7 separate regions of the Homo sapiens genome follow, and regions 1, 2, 3, 4, 6 and 7 are each linked to region 5. Evidence: promoter capture Hi-C in 16 types of primary human blood cells and fetal thymus (Javierre and others, 2016). All regions are on one chromosome and are shown on one strand. The core of a region is centred on a gene start or on the middle of the fragment in contact, and the rest is flanking DNA. Distances in the headings are between cores, read along the strand shown.

Region 1 (2,785 bases), core at 115-2,614, 290 kb before region 5:
GCTTGTCTGGCAAGGTTGGACATCCTGTTACAATCTATATTCAGGTCTCTCCACTTTGAAAAGGAACTAGAATCAATCAAGGAGACTGTGACTACTACCAGTCACATAAAAGTATTTAATTAGTTTCACACTTAGAAAAGAATCCAAGTCTATTTTCCAAGTGCCCAGTCTCAGCCACCACTTTACTATTGTACATATTTTCAGTTCTACCATAGTATTTCCTATATGGTAAATGAGAGAATACAATCAAGCCAAATTTATTTCTTGACCTTTCCCTAGAGGAATGTGTAAGACCATCATTGAGCATAGAGCACCAGTTTTCAAAGTCAAAGTTTCACTCTCCATTTGAAGCCTGACTACAAATAACCTAAGATAGCAGCTTCCAAATTGGCTTTGACTCATTTTAAAATATGCATTGAGCCATGACAAGACTGGTGACTCTTTTGCAGGAAAAACATAATAAACAAATTGAGCCCCAAAATTAAGCCACTAGACATATTCTTTCTCTTTCTCCCCCCACCCCCTATAACAGCATGAAGTAACAGCTGTTAACTGGAAAAACAAAGACCATAAGCCAGAGCTGCAGGAAAGCCCATCGTTTTTACTAATCACACTGCTGCTCCACTTTCTGAAGGACAACTCTTAAGTGGCCAATTTAAAAAAAACATACCAGGGTGGGCACAGTGGCTCACGCCTGTAATCCCAGCACTTTGGGAGGCCGAGGTGGGCGGATCACAAGGTCAGGAGAATGAGACCATCATGGCTAACACGGTGAAACCCTCTCTCTACTAAAAATACAAATAATTAGCCAGGAGTGGTGGCACATGCCTGCAGTCCCAGCTACTTGCGAGGCTGAGGCAGGAGAATCACTTCAGCCTGGGAGGAGAAGGTTGCAGTGAGCCGAGATCAGGCCACTGCACCCCAGCCTGGGCGAGAGTTGACACTCCGTCTTAAAAACAAACGAACAAAAAAATTCCAGTACTTTACACACAAAAAGTCATTGGATTTTCCAATTTCCTGGCACTAGGATGTTACATTGACAAAAGCAGACGTAAAGCCTGGATTTGGGACAATCAAGGAATAGTTACAAACACATTATTCAAATTCCAAAACAAAGAATCTCAGGTTGGAAATTTTCCTTAATCTATTGGGAACTACTATGTAGAAAACATTAGTTAATACTAGTGAAGTGTTTTCATTATTCCAGGATCAACCTAGTTCAGATGACTGATGCACATTAAATAGGCAAATGTGCCAAGTTTCAGGTTTTATTTACTTGAATAATATCACATCTCTACTGGGCGCGGTGGCTTATGCCTGTAATCCCAGCACTTTGGGAGGTTGAGATGGGCGGATTGCCTGAGGTCGGGAATTCAAGACCAGCCTGGACAACATGGTGAAACCCTGTCTCTACTAAAAACACAAAAATTAGCCAGGTGTGGTGGCGGGCACCTGTAATCCCAGCTACTTGGGAGGCTGAGGCAGGAGAATCGCTTGAACCCAGCAGGCGGAGGTTGCACTCAGCCGAGATCGCACCACTGCACTCAAGCCTGGGTGACAGAGCAAGACTCTTGTCTCCAAAAAAAAAAAAAACAACAAAAAAATTCCCACCTCTTCAGTCTAGCTATAAAATATAATTACTTTATATATATATATATATATATATATATATATATATAATTATTTTACCTCCTTGGCTTGGGGGTCAGGAGAAATCAGTAAGTGAGGTAAAAGAAAGAGCTGCGAGGGAAAAGGATTGTTGCCCTAGATGCAGAAGGTATCTTTTCTCCTGGAAATAAAGACCCCAAGGTCTCCATTGCACTTTTATTTGAATGTAATATTTGGGACAATTATTCAAAAGGGCCAATATTTCCCAATTTAATCTGAGGTCATAATAAAACAAGCAACAAAACAGTGTTTGGGATTTCAGTTTCTCACCCTTATCATCAAGACTCACTGCCTCCCATCATCAATATTTATTGAGCATTTACAGTGTACTAGGCACAATAGAACATACAGAAAACATTGTCCCTGCTCTTGAGGAGCTTACATTCTAAAAGAAAAAATACACCTTTTTTAAAATGGCATTTTTGTTTGGTGTTTTCTGCAAAGTACTGAGGAAATATTTTGTAAAGTGAGCTTTGGGTATAACTTAGCCCCATCATTATTTAGAGAATAGAGGAGGAAGAAAGAGGAAGGATTTTAAAGGCAGACAATGACAGACCATTCAGGATAGGTAGGGTTTTAAAGGGAGATAAACACAGTCTCATCAACTAAGGAGAGATTTGCTGCAGTAAATAGGATGAGGGAAATAGTCTGTGGGATGCAAGCAAAGGAAGCAGGGTGCCTTAGACACTGAGTGGAGCCAGAAAGATCATGCGGCCTTTTTCCAAGTACATGGCCACCAAGTAAGAATGGTTGGTGACAAGACAGAAGGCTAAAACAGGAAGGTAATCTTGTGCACCTGACAAATAGAAAGAATAAAGGATCAAAATTGAAGGCAGGCTATAAGAGTATCAAGAAATTCTTAAAAACCAAAAAGTGATTTGGAAGCACAAAACTTACAGTTAATGCTACCCAATGTCATGATGGGCCAAGAACATTGTGGCTTCCTAAGTTAGAAAATGCCATATGCCAAAATTTTAAATGGAACACACTACATTTTTTTCTAATCAATCCCCCCCTCTCCCAGAAAAAATAGGAACTCATTTTTTTCAGGGTGGGGAGGAAGAGAGGGGATCATGGGACATGGAAACAGTAGTTATATTAGTAGTATTTTTGTTAT
Region 2 (2,934 bases), core at 168-2,667, 370 kb before region 5:
GAGTCAAATCCAAGGCTTGTTACAAAAATTAGCAGATCTCTCTCACTCCATTTCCTGATCTCTAAACAGAACCACTTTCAAATCTCTAGATAATTTTATACTATATTCTATAAATTTTCAGTTTCAGGTGTATGTTGTCAACTTCTTGCGATGGAAAATAAGGCCTTTACTTTCACTCTCGCTCTCTCTCTCGCTCTCTTTATTGCTCTCTCTCTCTCACATACACACATTCACACTTTCTGACTTCCTGTCTTCCTGAAACAATTACATAAGCTTTGGTTAGACACATATTCAGTGTTGTATTGGTCAAGTCTAATCAGGAGTTAGAAACCACAGAGTAATTGGTACATAGAAAGTTTAATATAAAGAGTTATTCACTACAGTATAGGATTATCTATCAAGGGGGAAAGAGAACTGTAAAGAATGCCTAGAGGTGGGCAAGTGTGGGAGACCAGAGTACCCCTCCCCAAAGTACAAGGGATTATCAAGCTGAAGACACTTAAGAAGAAACAAACGCACCAGAGCGCTCTGCCCTCTGTTGGGGCTTGGAAAACAATGCCCTGCAGTACGGCACTTTGGCGGGTTGAGCACTTTGATCTCAAGGAGACTGGAAGGCTCCAGAAGCAAGTTCTCTCTGATCTTTTCTGTTCTATCTCTCCTGCCTCTTTTTTCCCCCAAAGCAAGTCATGGACACCAGAATTCCACTTCCCCAAGGCTGGTTATTAGAAACTGATCCCCTCTTCTCCAAAGCAAGCCTTAAAATGAGACATATCATTCTCATCTTCCCCATCTTTCTGTGTAGAAGCTGGCCATAAAGACATTCTCCGGCCTGCCTTGCCAAATAGTTGGTCATAAGACTCCCATTCCAGAGGGGTCCTGCGCTATCCCCCGAGCAAGGAATGCTGCACAGAGAAGCCAAGAAGAATCTGAACATACAGGCTTTGCCGGGTCTCCCCACTCAATCCATTATCATTGGATCATATTGTTGTTGTCCAGTCACATTTCTACATGCCTGCCCATTTTTTATTTGACTTAAGCATAAAAATAGACAATTTTCCCTGGGTCTTTAGGACTTTATTTCTGAAGTTTGCCGTGTCATGTAAAACTTTGATTAAATAAGTTGTGTTATGTTTTTCTCCTGTGAACCTGTCTTTGTTATAGGAGTTGTCGGCCATGACCCTTATGATGGGTGAGGAAAGGGATCACACCTTTTCTGCCCCTGCATTCTCCTCTATTTGCCTAAAAGAAGAATATAGATCTATAAAGAAAAAGGGCATCTGTATGAGTCAGGGTTCTCCAGGAGGACAGAACTAATAGGATATATGTGTATATAAAAGAGAGTTTACTAGGGAGGATTGGCTCACACAATTACAAGGCAAAGTCCTACAAGAGGCCGTTTGCAAGCTGGGGAGAAGGAAAAGCTGGTAGTGGCTCAGTCCAAGTCCGAAAGCCTCAGAACCAGGGAAGCCAACAGTGCAGCCTTCAGTCTGCGGTTGAAGGTCCGGGAGACCCTGGGAAGCTGCTGGTGCAAGTCCCAGAGTCCAAAGGCCAAAGAATCTGGCGTCTGATATCCAAGGGCAGGAGGAGCAGAGGCAAGCACCCAACGTGGGAAGAAGAAAGAGAGCCAGAGGACTCAGCAAGCAAAGTTACCCCACCTTCTTCACCTGCTTTGTTCTGGCTGTGCTGGCTGCCATTGGATGGTGTCCACCCACACTGAGGGTGAGTCTTCCTCTCCCAGTCCACTGACTCACATGTCAATCTCCCCAGCACCCTCACAGACACACCAGAAACGATACCAGCCACCTAGCATTCCCCAATCCAGTCAAGTTGGCACCTAATATTAACCGTCACAGTATCCTTCCTTGCTCTCTGAAGGTTACCAGTGGGCCAGATGTGGTGGCTCATGCCTGGAATCACAGCACTTTGGGAGGCTGAGGCTGGTGGATCACCTGAGGTCAGGAATTTGAGATCAGCCTGGTCAACTTGGTGAAACCCTGTTTCTACTAAAAATATACACACACACACAAATTAGCCCAGCATGGTGGCGGGCCCCTGCAGTCCCAGCCACTTGGGAGGCTGAGGCAGGAGAATTGCTTGAGCCCAGGAGGCAGAGGTTGTAGTGAGCCAAGATCGTGCCACTGCACTCCACTTGCACTCCAGCCTGGGTGACAGAGCGAGACTCCATCTCAAAAAAATAAAAATAAATAAATAAGGGGGCTGGGGGCAGTGGCTCACGCCTGTAATCCTAGCACGTTGGGAGGCCAAGGTGGGCAGATCACTTGAAGTCAGGAGTTCAAAACCAGCCTGGCCAATATAGTGAAATCTCGTCTCTACTAAAATCACAAAAATTAGCCGGGTGTGGTGGTGGACGCCTGTAATCCCAGCTACTTGGGAGGCTGAGGCAGGAGAATCACTTGAACCGGGAGGCGGAGTTTGCAGTGAGCCGAGATTGCACCACTGCACTCCAGCCTGGGCTACTGAGCGAGACTCCATCTCAAAAATAAATAAATAAATAAATAAATAAATAAAACAAATAAATAAAAATAAAGGTTACCACTGAAGAAAGCTTTAAACTGTCTCGGCCTGGAGATGAAGCCAGAGGAATGCATATGAACAAGCTTTACTAACCAGCCTTTATCTGCCAGTTCTTTGCCTTTCCTCAAGTTGCTGCCTGTAGAAACTCAAAATCCATTTCCTTTGTCCTGTCACTTCTCTAAAAGTGTACTGTTCTTTGTTAAAGATGCCAGCTAAGCTGGAATTCCAAGCCACCACTTTGAGAACTACTCATTCTCTGTGTATCTCCCATGTATTATGAAGTATATATGTGAATAAATTTGTTTGCTTTTCTTTTGTTAATTTGCCTTTTGTAACAGAAGTCTGTTTCTACTACAGACCTCTGGAGGTTCTTTTCCCCCATGCAAGGATACTCCCGGG
Region 3 (2,881 bases), core at 225-2,724, 350 kb before region 5:
CTGAAATTCTTGAACCCATTTAAAAGTTAGGTAAATAACTGACTCTTTTCTGGTAGTCAGTACAACCCCATGAATTATTCTATTGACTGTGAATATCAAGTAGCTGCCCGTGCAAAGTGCTCAGCAGAAAGAGCCCCAATGAGGGGTATTCTCTTTTTCTCACTCAAGGCTGAGAGTGAAAGCAATTTAGATTTTTCCACTCTGGAAGGGTTGTGTGGGAGCCTTAGTTAGCTGACACCATCCTTCCAATTTACTTTAATGCTGTTTGTGAGCACTTTACAGATGAATGCCTCAGCACCTGCTGACCTGCCCACCCTTCAGTCCCCATCTAGATTCAGGTCCCAGGTTAAGACATGTGGACTAGACAGTCCATGTTTAAACACCGACGAGGTCATTAGCAGCTCTGAACATGCAAATGCATTACTCTGCACCTGAAGTGCATAGGATGGGAAGAGGCGGCCAAGGAGGGAGATAGAACAATAGAAAAAGTGACTACCTGGAAGCCAACGAGTCCATGGAAGCTTTGAGAAAGGGCACCTTTATGCATTTTCTGGAATGCTGGTGTTCTAGAATCCCCAGCCAAAGCGTCTCCTCTTTGCCAGTCAGGGCACTTGTCTCAGGCTTTTGGTTTGTTTTTTGAGACAAGGTCTCACTCTCACCTGGGCTGGAGTGCAGTGATGCGATCATGGTTTACTTCAGCCTCTACCTCCTGGGCTTAAGTGATCCTCCCACCTCAGCCTGCTGAGAAGCTGGGACTATAGGTACACCACTACGTCCAGCTAATTTTATTTTTTGTAGAAACAGGGGTCTTGCTATGTTGCCCAGGCTGGTCTCAAACTCCTGGACTCAAGTGATCCTCCCACCTCGGCTTCCCAAAGTCCTGGGATTACAAGTGAGCCACTGGGCCCGACTCTGGTTTTGCATACAAGGCTGGGAGACAGGCTCTTTATGGCTGAAAGGACTCCTGTGGAATATATTTATTCATGCCTTGACTGCCAGGCCCTAGGGGTCTTGATATCAGTTGGCAGGGAAAGCCATTCTCAGACCTCCTGCCGGGTCATGTCCCATTTTGGGGCCTTCCACAGCAGGCCTGCAAGAGGATGTCCGTGGGGTGGGTTGGCCAGGGGAGCAGGGGAGCTTTTGCATCTGTTTTCAGAGCCAGGAATCCATGGGTCTAAGGGTTGTAATGATTTGGTTCATCCCCAACACAGGGTGGTGCCTGTCAGCAAGTTTGCACCACAGCAAACACTTTGTGTGGGGAATCAGGACAGCAGTGAGAGAGCTGGGGCCAGAGGGTGTCTGTCTTCTGGCCTCCAGGCAGCTTTTGCTGATGCTGACCAACTCAGCGCTAGGAGAGGCAGAATGAATAGCCTCCATGGCCTGGCTGGCAGCAAAAATTTAGCAGTCAGTATTGGAACAGTGTCATGCCTCAGAGGCCTCAGAGAGGAGAAGGCAGTGTTACAGAAAGCAGTGGCTGTCAAAATGCAGCTCCTTTTGCAGCAGTAGCCACATCACCTGGGAGAGCTTGTAAGAAATGCGCATTTTCCTCAGGTGCTGATACTTTGGGAAGCTGAGGCCGGAGGATTGCTTCAGTGCAGGAATTTGAGATCAGCCTGGGGAATATACCAAGACCTCATTTCTACTAAAAAAACAAACAGACAAAAAAAAAAAAAAAAAGCAGGCATGGTGGTGCACACCTTGTAGTCCCAACTACTTGGGATGCTGATGTGGAAGGATTGCTTGAGTCTAGGAATTTGTGGTTACAGTGAGCTATGATCACGCCACAGCATTCCAGTCTTGGCAAGACAGTGAGAACTTGTCTTTAAGAAAAAAGAAAAAAAAAGAAATACACATTCTCAGGCTCCACTCCAGATCCTTGGAATCAGAAGCTCTGAGGGTGGGGCCTGTGCAATGAGCCCTGCAAGGGTGGCAGGCTGGGGAGCAGGCAAGGGTCTGGTTGTGCAGTTCCAACACTCCCTTCACCCTTGGAGCCAGCCAGTATTCAGTCCTGGGGATCTGTGCAGGGAAGCTGCCGCTCTGCCACAGCCTGAAGTCTTCTCTGCTAAATCCTGCACTGCCCACAGCAGCCCCAGTGGCCAGACCCAGGAACCTGCAAAGCCCTGTGCCGTGTGCCCCGAATGGCATGGGTCCCTGGCTCCTGAAAGGTGCTGAGGAGGCTGGGCCCCCACACTGACATCCATTCTTGGGAACAGCCAGAGCTGCAGCAGACATGGATGAGGGGCTTCTGAGCAGGAGGGCCAGTGTGTACAAAATGCTGGGAGGTGAGTGGGCTGTCCAGGTCCCTTCTAATGGCTGACCCACTCCATGGTAAAAGAACTGGAGAGGTGGCCTGCCATCTCTGTGACTCCCATGACTGAGGCAGGATTAATGCTCACTGTGGAAGACCTCCACGATGTGGCTACGTGGGGAAGCTTTCTGTGTGTTCTCCCATAAACCAAGGGAAGAGTACTGGGGCAAAGCAGATTTTATTAGCTCATACTGAGAAGTACAGAGAGGCACAGGACACAAAAGCTTCTCTAGGGCTATTCCTAGCCTGGGGGACTCAGCTCTCAGGAGCACAGAGCCTGCAGAGAGACATGAGGAGGCCAGAGGCAGTGCCACCCCTGCTTCCAGGAGCCTTCCTTATCTGCTCTGCTGGCAGGAACTGCACCTGTGAAGTTAAAGCAGGGGGGCCAGGCAATGCAGAATGCAGATCTTCAAGCAGTGCACTTTACGTTGACCCTCTATTTACTAGAACATAGATTCATGAGTGCAATATAGATTCATCAACCCGCTTCCACTGGGAGAGTAAAAAATTAAAAAAAAAAAAAATTCCAGGGGGAGGAGCCAAGATGGCCAAACAGGAACAGCTCCGGTCTAC
Region 4 (2,700 bases), core at 58-2,557, 490 kb before region 5:
ATACAACATTCACGTTATACATTTCAAATTTCAACATACAAAGCCATGAAAAAAATTTCAAAGCTCCGTAACTTGACTCCTCCCTCCCAGCCTTCTATGCCCCAGGTAGGTATACTTTTCCATTGAAAGACCTTTTATTATTAAGAAGGTAAACACCTTCCCTCCCCTGAAGGATTCCTCCTTCCATTTAAGGAGGTACACTTTAAACGGCTGTAAAAAGTTTTATTCTCAGCTCTAGCACAAAAGAGTTGCATTTTTTACCCAATAATTTGATTTTTTCCCTTTTCTATAGAGACAGTATATCATTCCATTGCCCAGGCTGAAGTGTAGCAGCACAATGAATAAGCTCACTTTAACTCAACTCCTGGGCTCAAGTGATCCTCCTGCCTCAACTTACCAAGTATCTGGGACTACTGGCCCACATACCACCATGCCTGGCTAATTTATTTTTTGTAGAGATAGGGTCTTGCTATGTTGCCCGGGCTAGTCTAAAACTTGTGGCTTCAAGTATCTTCCCTCTTTGACCTCCCCAAGCGCTAGGGTTACAGGCATGAGCTATTGTGCTAAGACCAATTTGATTTTCTTTGTATCAATTAAGAAACAAGTATTTATTAAGCCTTGGCCTACCCGACTTTCAACAGGAGTGGAAGGAATACATAGTTGGACTCTTTGGTAAGACATAGGTAATACAGGAATTTGAAAGACAGGGAAAAAAAATTCTTTTTAAAGACACAGGTGAACTACCTGGAAGAGGAAGCATTTATTTCTGAAGACATGTTTTCCCCTAACTCCCTCTAAAGTAGGAGAGACAGGTAACTGAGGCGGGTGGTATCTCAGGCAAGTGGGGCAGAAAAGGTTAAAAATCACATTTGATTACAGAAATTTAGAAGATGTATGGGCCAAGGCAGATTTTCTTCTGAATGTGCCTCTCTCCTGAGGCCAAAGTCAAGAAAATATGACATATTCACATATTTGTGGTCAACTTATGCAGCATTACTCATACGGTAGGTAGTTAACATCAACTTTTACAAACAGCTTCTAATTATAAGACATTAAGAAGCATGACAGTTGAAATATATAAAAGGCAGTAGCTAAATTTGGGGGTTGAGATGTAAACATGATGTCACTTTCTATGTTTTATATCATCTATCTTTGTGCAAAATGGTACTTTTTTGCTCTAGTGGAGGGCTTGATGTGACATGCTAGCATGGCAGTAAGATATTAGATTTCCTGGCCAGGCACAGTGGCTCACACCTGTAATCCCAGCACTTTGGGAGGCCGAGGTGGCTGGATCACTTGAGGTCAGGAGTTGGAGACCAGCCTGGCCATCACGGTGAAACCCCGTCTCTAATAAAAATACAAAAATTAGCTGGGCATGGTGGCGCACACCTGTAATCCCAGCTACTCAAGGTAGAGATAGGAGAACTGCTTGAACCCGGGAGGCGGAGGCTACAATGAGCCGAGATCACGTGACTGCACTCCAGCCCGGGTGACAGAGCAAGAGTCAAAAAAAAAAGTATTAGATTTCCTAATTCTTTATTATTTGACATATTAAAAAAAGCAAGACACCTCTAAGTTCAACACAAAATGCAAAGGGTGGGGTCAAGCAAATCATCTGCACATGAACACTTAAAAGTTATTTTATCTGTTATACCCCTACCTAAACTAAGGCTGGTTTGTGCTTCATCAATTTCAAGTTTTATGAAGTTATTTTTAAATGCAGGAAATAAGTACTTTGAATCACTGGAAAATCTGAATTTTTGGTTTCATCGCTGAAAGTCATTGTTTTAAACTGCTCAAACATGATGTTACTTAGACTGACCAGCTTTATTGTTCTATGAGACTGCATTCCACTGTAGGCTGGCTGTGTCAAATATATGCTTCTGATGACATGGGATCTCTAATTACACACACACACACACACACACACACACACACACACATATATATCTCCAGCCTCTTAATGTAGTAAAATATTTTAAAATCTGTTCTAATTACTTAGTCATACCTTACTGTGCTAATCTAATGCTATTAACCTTTAACCTGGATAGAATTCTATTTATTTGCATTATACTACTTTGTAGTGTAATAGATGGCCAGCAGCTTAATTCAAATAACCACAAATATTTTAAAGTACCATGTAAGTCTAATTTTATTGACTTTTTTAGTATAAAGTAATAGCTAAAATTAACACTGAGCACTAATTCAGAGCTTTGTGTGTAAAAATTTAATTAAGACACATTACCAAACTTGCCAAAGAGATCCTTAAGGCGCTCATCATCCATGTCTTCTCCAAAATTCTTGATGTAAACATTGGTGAATTCTTTTGCCCTAGCTCCAAGTTCAGCTTCTCGTTCTTTACGAGACTTAAATCGTCCAACAAATCTAATAAGATATACAAGGACTATAACATTAGATTCTATTTTATAAAGTTCAGATTAAGTAAGCCTGATGGTTGGTTTTGTTACTGTTAATGAGAATATTCAGAATCCCTAATAAAAAGCACACTACAAAATAGAAATAGGGCCATAATTTAAGATATGACACCATGAAATATATGAATAAGCCTCTAACTACAATCACAAAAAAAAAACCACTTCTTTTAATACACACTTCTCTTCTCTAGCTAACCTAGGGTTAAAGGGATCACTCCCATCAATACAAATGAGTGGAAGTGCATGTGTACCATGCCAATAAAAA
Region 5 (2,702 bases), core at 45-2,544:
ATTCTGAAGACAGAAAACTTAACACCAGGTAAAGGAAATGGAATAAAATAAGCTAAATGCATGAGGTAGGCCCCTAACTTCTGACAACACGCCCCATCGATTTCCTTTCTGAAAGCAGAAATTCAAACGAACCAACCACCTGCTTTTGGACAGCTCAACTTAGGACTTGCTCTCAAGCCAACACAATTTTCTACAAAATCGTAGGCAGCTACAACCGCTCCTTGATTAAATGCGACAAACTGGAGGGAAAAAGTCACTTACAAATACCTACATGCTGGTTTTTAATGCAACTCTCAGTGTGGTTTTCCGAGGGGGCTGCAAAGAGGGAAGTAGTGGAAGAAACGAGTTCTAAAATGAGGCGCTCTCGTAGGAGGCAACAAGTAAGCTCTGCCCCAAAGCTCCTTTTAAAACCAACATAAATGAGTAACAGAAGAAAAGGATTTTGGGTCCAGGAAGTAGGCTCATTCTCCATAACCATCGGAAAGGAAGAGGCCCAGGCAGCGCTCCACATCCTGACCCTAGCTTTTAACACCATCGTTTTGGGGAGAGGAGAGGAGGAACGCACCCACAGTGAGGTCTCCACCCAACACTTCTCCGACCCCAGCTTCAGCCTGGCGCACCTTCCTTCCCAAACCCGCCTCTCCCGCCTCGGAGACCCCCTCCTCCTCCCTGCCACCAAAGGCCACGCAGCCCCCATCTAGCCAGTCCTCACGGACCCTGGACCAAGACGCGCCTCCTGGAGGCCGAGACTGCCCGAAACCCGGCCCCTGCGTCCACCGGGAGCGCCACACTCTGGCAGCTGACCGGCGGCTGTCGCCGGGGGTAAGGTTACCGCTCCGCTTCCGCGGCTGGCCTGCGACCCGGCCACCTGCAGGGCCTGGCAGGCGCCCGAACTCATCCCCTTCCCGCGGCCCGCCCCGGGCCGGGCCCTGCCGCCCCCCGCGACCCCTCGCGACCCGCGGCGAGTCCCACGGTCCCCACCGCCCCCCGCTGGCCGGCCCCCGCCCCGTTTCCCGGGCGTCCCGCGGCGTCAGCACCGCCCCCGCTGCCGCTCACCCGGGCCGGGACAGTCTTGCGTCGGAGAGACAGTGCAGCGCGAGAGGGCCGGGAGAGGACGCCGGAGGGAAAGGAAGGGGGAGCGCGCCCAGCACCGCTTGGGCCTCCTCCACCCGCTCAGGAGGGGAAACACGAGAGCCGGGAGCACAACAGCCTCGCACGCCCGCCGCCGCCGCGCGCCCGCCGCCGCCTCAGCCTTAGGGGAGACCACTACGCCTCGTGCCCGCGCACGCCGCGCCGCTCTCCTCGGCGCCCCCGCCCCGCCTGCTCCTCGCAGCCCCGCCCATGTGCCTTTCTGCGGCTGCCTCCTTCTGGCCCCCACCCCGCTCGCACGCCTGCGCCCTGGCTGGTCGCGCGGGCCAATGGCAGCGCGCCCCTATTACATAAGCGCGAGGGGGCGGGCCCTGGCTGACACAAACTTCAGGGGACGTCGCCTTCTGTCCCCAGGCGCCCCTCCTCTCCGGCGCGCTCGGTCCGGGCGGCTTCTTCACCCAGCCCTGGGAGCCACGTGATCCCGGTCCTGGTTGGTGACCGGGCCGCGGCGTGTTTCACAAGTCGCTCGCTCGCTCATCCACTCGGGCGGCGGCCGGGCCTCAGGCGCTGCGACCCTTTTCCCGCTCCTCCCAGGCTGACGCGCCCGTCTCGGCGCCGCCCTCCTCGGCACCGACTGAGGCGCTGGCCCGGGAGCGGATCGCGGGGCCGCGGTGGCTGAGTCACATTCCCGGAGCCCCGCCACCCAGGACACCGCGGCCCCGGCCCCCAGCGAGCCCGGCGGACCCAGCGGCTCTGAACGCGGACGCACAGCCTTTGTTCTTTCACAGCCGCCCTTTACCTCACTCCCATGGAAACCCCAGGTGTTTTCCCAAGCTGGGGGCTTTTAGTGAGTTCAAGATTCAAGCCTAAGTCGTATTAAAAATTGCTGGCTAGGCCGGGCGCGGTGGCTCACGCCTGTAATCTCAGCGCTTTGGGAGCCCAAGGCAGGAGGATCACTTGAGCCCAGGAGTTCCAGACCAGCCTGAGTACATAGCGAGACCCACGTCTCCACAAAAATAAAATAAAATAAAATAAATAGTGGAGCATGGTGGCCCGCGCCTGTAGTCCCAGCTACTCGGGAGGCTGAGGTGGGAGAATCGCTTGAGGCCGGGAGGTGAAGGTTGCGGTAAGCCGAGATCGCGCCATTGCACTCCATCCTGGGCGACTGAGTGAGACCCTGCCTAAAAAAAAAAAAAAACAAAAAAAGAAAAAAAAATTGCTGGCCAGGCTTCCCGGAGGGGTTTAGTTTGACTGCTAACAATATACGGTACTGAGTTGCTAATCCTTCGGGGAATGGTTAAAGTTCTTTGCGCGCGCTCTCTCTCCATTTACAGGCAGTGGCAGCAAACTTTCAATATCTGACAAGAGCAATGGCGATTATAACCATGATTAAAATTGCTGAATATCTGGAAACAGTACTTTAGACATCAGCTTTATTGTGCATACTTACCCCCGACCCCCGCCACATTCGTTTCTAATTAGAACTACTAGTGACAAAGGAGAAAAAAAAAAAGTGTTTGCATTGGCTGTTCTCACCTTGCCTGTAGTGCCGTTTCCCAAGTTTGCGTGGCAGTGCCCAGGAAATGTTGGCTGAATATTAGTATATCCCAAAT
Region 6 (2,700 bases), core at 95-2,594, 510 kb before region 5:
AAATGATCACAAGGCCACTAAAAGAATGTCTGATATTCCCCAGGCAGTCAAAGATGCTCAAAGGAAGAAAAGTATCCTGACTTAGAATTTTATACCCAGCACGGTTAAAGATCTCCTTTTTCTTCTGTTTTTTAACTTTTTTTCTTCTCTTTCAAGACAACTCGTCACTAGGATTCCTTTTCTTCTAAACAATGACTTTCTCATTCTTTTTGGCTGTCTTAAAATGTGACAACAAAAAAGCATCTTTGCACATTAGGAAGCCGAGGCAGGCGGATCACTTGAGGTCAGGAGTTCGAGATTCGCCTGAGCAACATGGTGAAACCCCATCTCTATTAAAAATACAAAAATTAGCTAGGCATGGTGACATGCGCCTGTAGTCCCAGCTACTTGGGAGGCTGGGGCAGGAGACATGCTTCAACCCGGGAGGTGGAGGCTGCAGTGAGCTGAGATCGCACCACTGCACTCCAGCCTGGGTGACAGTGAGATTCCGTAAAAAATACAAATTTAAATTAAAAAAAAGAAAAAGGAACTTTGTTTTTGCTTTATATTTCATGCTTTAATAAACATAAAAATTTGCTGTCTCCCCATCCCCCACCTCTCAGACTGAAGGTAGTCCAAGTACCTGAGATTTTATGGAGTTTTACTTTTTTATAGTTTATAGGCAGTTTATGCCAAGCCTAAAAGTGTGAACTCTAGTCTGTATGTAGGCTTGGATTTAAAGCCCAGTTCCACCTCCACTTACTATGTGACTTTGGACAAGTCGCGGTTCAGTTTGATGCTTCAGTTCCCTCATCTGTAAAATGGGAATATATTACTGAACCAATTTCATAGGGTGGTTTTAAGAATTAAATGATATAGTGCAAGTAAAGAGTTTACTTGTTAAGTAAACACATACATATACTCAATATTAGCAGTTACAAATGTTAATTCCGAGTTGGCTCTGGTAAATTTTTTAAAAATTGGTTGATTAAAAAACAGGCATATCGGCCGGGCACAGTGACTCACACCTGTAATCCTAGCGCTTTGGGAGGCCTAGGCAGGATGACTGCCTGAGCTCAGGAGTTTGAGACTACCCTAGGCAACATGGTGAAACCGTCTCTACTAAAAATACAAAAATTAGCCGGGCATGGTGGCAGGCGCCTGTAGTCCCAACCACTTGGGAGGTGAGGCAGGAAAATCATTTGAACCCAGGAGACGGAGGTTGTAGTGAGCGGATATCGCACCACTGCACTCTAACCTGGGCGACAGAGCAAGACTCCATCCCCAAAAAAATCACTACTCTATACTTCTAAGAATCTTCTAAGAATCCCTGCTTCTTTTTAGTGCACATGAGCTTGGTTCCTCAGGCAATTATTTTATAATCTTCATTGCTGGCCATAATTGCAGTGCCACCAAATTACCACTGCATCACAAATGGATTTGTAAAGAATAGTCACCCATACTTATAAATGATTTGCTTATAAAAATATCTGTTAAAGCCGGGCGCAGTGCTCACGCCTGTAATCCCAGCACTTTGGGAGGCTGAGGCAGGTAGATCACCTGAGCTCCCGACCTCAAGACCAGCCTGACCAACATAGAGAAACCCCGTCTCTACTAAAAGTACAAAATTAGCTGCATGTGGTGGCACATGCCTGTAATCCCAGCTACTCAGAAGGCTGAGGCAGGAGAATCGCATGAACCCGGGAGGTGGTGGTTGCAGTGAGCCAAGATTGTGCCATTGCACTCCAGCCTGGGCAACAAGAGTAAAACTGCATCTCAAAAAAAAAATCTGTTAAAAATATTAAGTTAAAAATTTAAAGGACTTGTTTAGCATATAATCTGGCATTTAATCCATTTTATATTATAACTTTTTATTCTTAATAGTAAAAATGTCTTCTACTGATTTAAATAGTTTGGGAAATATTAACATTTAGGGGCTGATAAAATAATTTTGAATGTCAGGCTGGCCATCTACCTGGCAATACGAAATAAGCATAATAAAAAATATTCCATGTACCACACATTTTTTTTTTACTTGGGGTGGGGTATAGAAACAAAAACCCATCACCAATCATAAATCCATCTGTTCACGTATGCCTTATCAATGATCATGTATCTTGTGGGAACTTTCTGAAAAGGACAAATGTTCCAACATGTAGAGCTTTTTCTCTGCAGAAAAAACATCAGAGCTAATCAAAAGCCCATGTTGTTTCCTTTTCTGGGGATATTGTCAGTAACAAAGTAAATAAATTGCATGTTTTTCTACCTTTTTAGATAATACAATATTTTGCAAACTTGCCATGATTGTGAGGGTCAAATAAACGAATACTATCTAAAATTTAAAAATTAGGTTATCCTGGCTGGGCGCGGTGGCTCATGCCTGTGATCACAGTACTTTGGGAGGCCGAGGCGGGTGGATCACCTGAAGTCAGGAGTTCCAGACCAGCCTGGCCAACGCGGCGAAACCCGTATCTACTAAAAATACAAAAATCAGCTGGGTGTGGTGGCACGTGCCTGCAGTCCCAGCTACTCGGGATGCTAAGGCAAGAGAATTGCTTAAATCTGGGAGGTGGAGGCTGCAGTGAGCCGAGATTGCACTACTGCACTCCAACCTGGGTGACACAGCGAGACTCCATCTCAAAAAAATAATAATAATAAAAAATAAATAAAAATTAGGTTACCCTGCAATTCTGCCATGTATCTCCCTAGCATGTGAAACTA
Region 7 (2,700 bases), core at 66-2,565, 310 kb before region 5:
ATTAAGAAATTCGTCATTCGAAACATAGTGGAGGCCGCAGCAGTCAGGGACATTTCTGAAGTGAGCGTCTTCGATGCCTATGTGCTTCCCAAGCTGTATGTGAAGCTACATTACTGTGTGAGTTGTGCAATTCACAGCAAAGTAGTCAGGAATCGATCTCGTGAAGCCCGCAAGGACCGAACACCCCCACCCCGATTTAGACCTGCGGGTGCTGCCCCACGTCCCCCACCAAAGCCCATGTGAGGAGCTGAGTTCTTAAAGACTGAAGACAGGCTGTTCTCTGGAGAAAAATAAAATGGAAATTGTACTTAAAAAAAAAAAAAAAAAGAATGTCCCCTCCTTTGTTTCTACATTCCTGCAGGCCTGAGTCTCTTGGACTGACCTTTTGATGCATTGGTTGGATGGGCATTGTGATCTGCTTGGTTTCTAATGGCTGAATGAGCCACCAGAGACCTTGGTGGGCCAGGAGCTGAGGAAAGTCATTCAGTCAGACACTAAAGAAAAGATGGCAAAGACTGGGCCAAGAGTTCCCTCTGCTTTCTTGTTGCTTTCATGGAATTCATTAATTCATTCTTCTTTCATTAACCAAAACATTTGTAGTACCAATAAGCCATGAGGAAAATGCAAGTCAAAACCCCAATGAAATATCACTTCACGCCCACTTAGGAAGGCTGTAATGAAAAATACAAGTAATTACAAGTGTTGGTGAGGATGTGGAGAAATTTAAACCCTCACTCACTAATAGCGGGAATGTCAAAGGATGCAGCTGATTTGGAAAACAATCTAGCAGTAACTCATGGTAACATGGAGTTACCATATGACCCGGTAATTTTACTCCTAAGTATATACCCAAGAGAAATGAAAACATCTATCCACACAGAACCTCAGGCACAAATGTTCATAGCAGCATTATTTATAATAGCCAAAGATTGGAAACAACCCAAATGTCCATCCACGGATGAATGGATAAACTGGTACATCCATAAAATGGAATATTATTTGGCAACAAAAAGGAATGAAGTACTGATACATGCCACAACATGGATGAACCTTGACAACATTATGCTAGGTGAAAGAAGACAGTCAAAAAGATCACATATTGTATGATTCCATTTATGTCAAATATCCAGAATAGGAAAGGACAAAGACTGTAGCATTTCACTAATATGAGGCATCTAAAGTAGTCACATTCGTAGACATAGAAAGTATGTAGAATGCTGGTCACTGGGGGCTGAGAGGCGGAGGAAGGGGAGTTGTTTAATGGGTACAGAGTTTCAATTCTGCAAGATGAAGTTCTGGAGATCTGTTTCACAACAATGTGAACACAATACTGAACTGTACACTTAAAATGGTTAAGATAGTAAATTTTATGACATATGATTCTTATTACAATTTTTTTAAATGTTTAAAAAATAATTCAGAATAGGTAAATCCAAGAGGTAGGACACAGATGGGTTGCTGCCTGGGGTTGGGGGGACAAGCAATGGTCCCAGGGGATAATAGGAAGTGGCTGCTTAATGGGTTTGGGGTTTCCTTTTGGGGTAATGAAATTATTTTGAAATGAGATAGAGGTGGTGGTTGCATAAATTGTGAATGTATTAAATGTCTTGAATTGTTCACTTTAAAATGTTGAATTTTCATGTTGTATGAATTTCACCTCAATTAAAAAATAAAGATAGTGACTTTTGTGGCGCATAAAACAGTATTTATTGTAATTTGATTATAATTTGAAGATTTCTTCCCCCTTATATGGGAGCTTCAAGAAGCAGTTTGCATTTGTCAAAAATGCTGCATGCTGGAGCTGTCGTGGAGGTCTGAGTGCAGAATGATAGGATGAGCCATTCTTTTTGTTAAACCTGGTAGCTTTCTGGGTTTTCCAAAATGCTAAGATGATTTTCAACATATTAATTACTGGATTGTACCCAGAATATTTGTTTAATATATATGTTTCTAGTATTCTAGATCTCCCCCTTTTTTTGAGACAAGGTCTCTCTTTGTTGCCCAGGCTAGAGTGCAGTGGCGTGATCACAGCTCACTGAAGCCTCAACCTCCCGGCTCAAGTGATCTTCCGACCACCTCAGCCTCTTGAGTAGCTGGGACTACAGGCACACATCACCATGCCCAGCTCATTTTTGAATTTTTTGTAGAGACAGTGTCTCATTATGTTGCCAAGGCTAGTCTTGAACTCCTGGGCTCAAGTGAATCTCCTGCCTCAGCCTCCCAAGGTGGTGGGATTACAGGCATGAGCCACTGTGCCCGGCCTATATCTCATACATAGAAAAAAATCCAAATGTGAACGCTTAGAATTTGGGGATTCTACTTAAAATTCTGTAAAGAATTGTTCTCTTATTAGGAGCATACTGATTAAAGGGTAACATTTTGAGGAAAAAAACATCCCACACATTAGTGCTTTAGGGGAAAATGTGGCTAGTATAAGCAGAGAAGGAATGATGTTTGCTTCTAGACCTTGCTTGTTGCTTGTAGCATTCTTGGTGGCGATGACACATGATGGGAAATGCTTTGAGGAAGAAGAGAATGGAATGGCTGAGTCTGAATTGAGCTCAGAGGCCTGACTCAATGGTTCTGTGAGAGGTACAGGCCCGGAAGAACAGCCAGGGAGACACCTGCTGATGCGAAGCTAAGAGCTGGCAGTGCTGCCCTAGTTCCTAGAGAGACCATGTCCTTCAAGACCTTGTCCTG

Evidence for each region. The method cuts DNA at HindIII sites, captures the fragments that hold promoters and counts their contacts. A CHiCAGO score of 5 or more calls a contact.
Region 1: a contact is called between a fragment that was not itself captured here and the fragment with the promoter of ZNF706 in region 5, in 1 of 17 cell types (naive CD4 T cells). The highest score is 5.7, in naive CD4 T cells.
Region 2: a contact is called between a fragment that was not itself captured here and the fragment with the promoter of ZNF706 in region 5, in 2 of 17 cell types (total B cells and total CD8 T cells). The highest score is 5.9, in total B cells.
Region 3: a contact is called between a fragment that was not itself captured here and the fragment with the promoter of ZNF706 in region 5, in 4 of 17 cell types (megakaryocytes, endothelial precursors, M0 macrophages and 1 more). The highest score is 6.3, in megakaryocytes.
Region 4: a fragment that was not itself captured here is called in contact with the fragment with the promoter of ZNF706 in region 5 in 1 of 17 cell types (fetal thymus); the score reaches 5.5 in fetal thymus.
Region 6: a contact is called between a fragment that was not itself captured here and the fragment with the promoter of ZNF706 in region 5, in 1 of 17 cell types (neutrophils). The highest score is 5.8, in neutrophils.
Region 7: a fragment that was not itself captured here is called in contact with the fragment with the promoter of ZNF706 in region 5 in 3 of 17 cell types (total B cells, megakaryocytes and naive B cells); the score reaches 6.2 in total B cells.

The regions. Positions count from the first base shown.
Region 1 is chr8:100,916,766-100,919,550 of GRCh38, forward strand. YWHAZ (tyrosine 3-monooxygenase/tryptophan 5-monooxygenase activation protein zeta) reads right to left here. Exons shown (of 6, transcript NM_145690.3): 6 at 1-2,785. Among named protein-coding and RNA genes, the nearest start is that of YWHAZ, 34 kb to the right of the region's middle. The HindIII fragment of the contact is 6,917 bases long and covers 1-2,785 here.
Region 2 is chr8:100,832,346-100,835,279 of GRCh38, forward strand. No RefSeq gene overlaps it. Among named protein-coding and RNA genes, the nearest start is that of PABPC1, 110 kb to the left of the region's middle. RefSeq lists enhancers at 168-217, 258-367. The HindIII fragment of the contact is 2,293 bases long and covers 272-2,564 here.
Region 3 is chr8:100,849,485-100,852,365 of GRCh38, forward strand. No RefSeq gene overlaps it. Among named protein-coding and RNA genes, the nearest start is that of YWHAZ, 100 kb to the right of the region's middle. RefSeq lists an enhancer at 1,278-1,945. The HindIII fragment of the contact is 1,911 bases long and covers 520-2,430 here.
Region 4 is chr8:100,713,217-100,715,916 of GRCh38, forward strand. It overlaps PABPC1 (poly(A) binding protein cytoplasmic 1), which reads right to left. Exons shown (of 15, transcript NM_002568.4): 4 at 2,246-2,385. Among named protein-coding and RNA genes, the nearest start is that of PABPC1, 7.5 kb to the right of the region's middle. The HindIII fragment of the contact is 2,823 bases long and covers 1-2,700 here.
Region 5 is chr8:101,204,379-101,207,080 of GRCh38, forward strand. ZNF706 (zinc finger protein 706) reads right to left here and starts at 1,295. Exons shown (of 4, transcript NM_016096.5): 1 at 1,057-1,295. RefSeq lists silencers at 830-1,429, 1,640-1,859. The HindIII fragment of the contact is 4,829 bases long and covers 1-2,702 here.
Region 6 is chr8:100,695,869-100,698,568 of GRCh38, forward strand. No RefSeq gene overlaps it. Among named protein-coding and RNA genes, the nearest start is that of MIR7705, 5.8 kb to the right of the region's middle. The HindIII fragment of the contact is 5,621 bases long and covers 1-2,700 here.
Region 7 is chr8:100,895,876-100,898,575 of GRCh38, forward strand. It overlaps the pseudogene RPS26P6. Among named protein-coding and RNA genes, the nearest start is that of YWHAZ, 55 kb to the right of the region's middle. The HindIII fragment of the contact is 4,310 bases long and covers 1-2,700 here.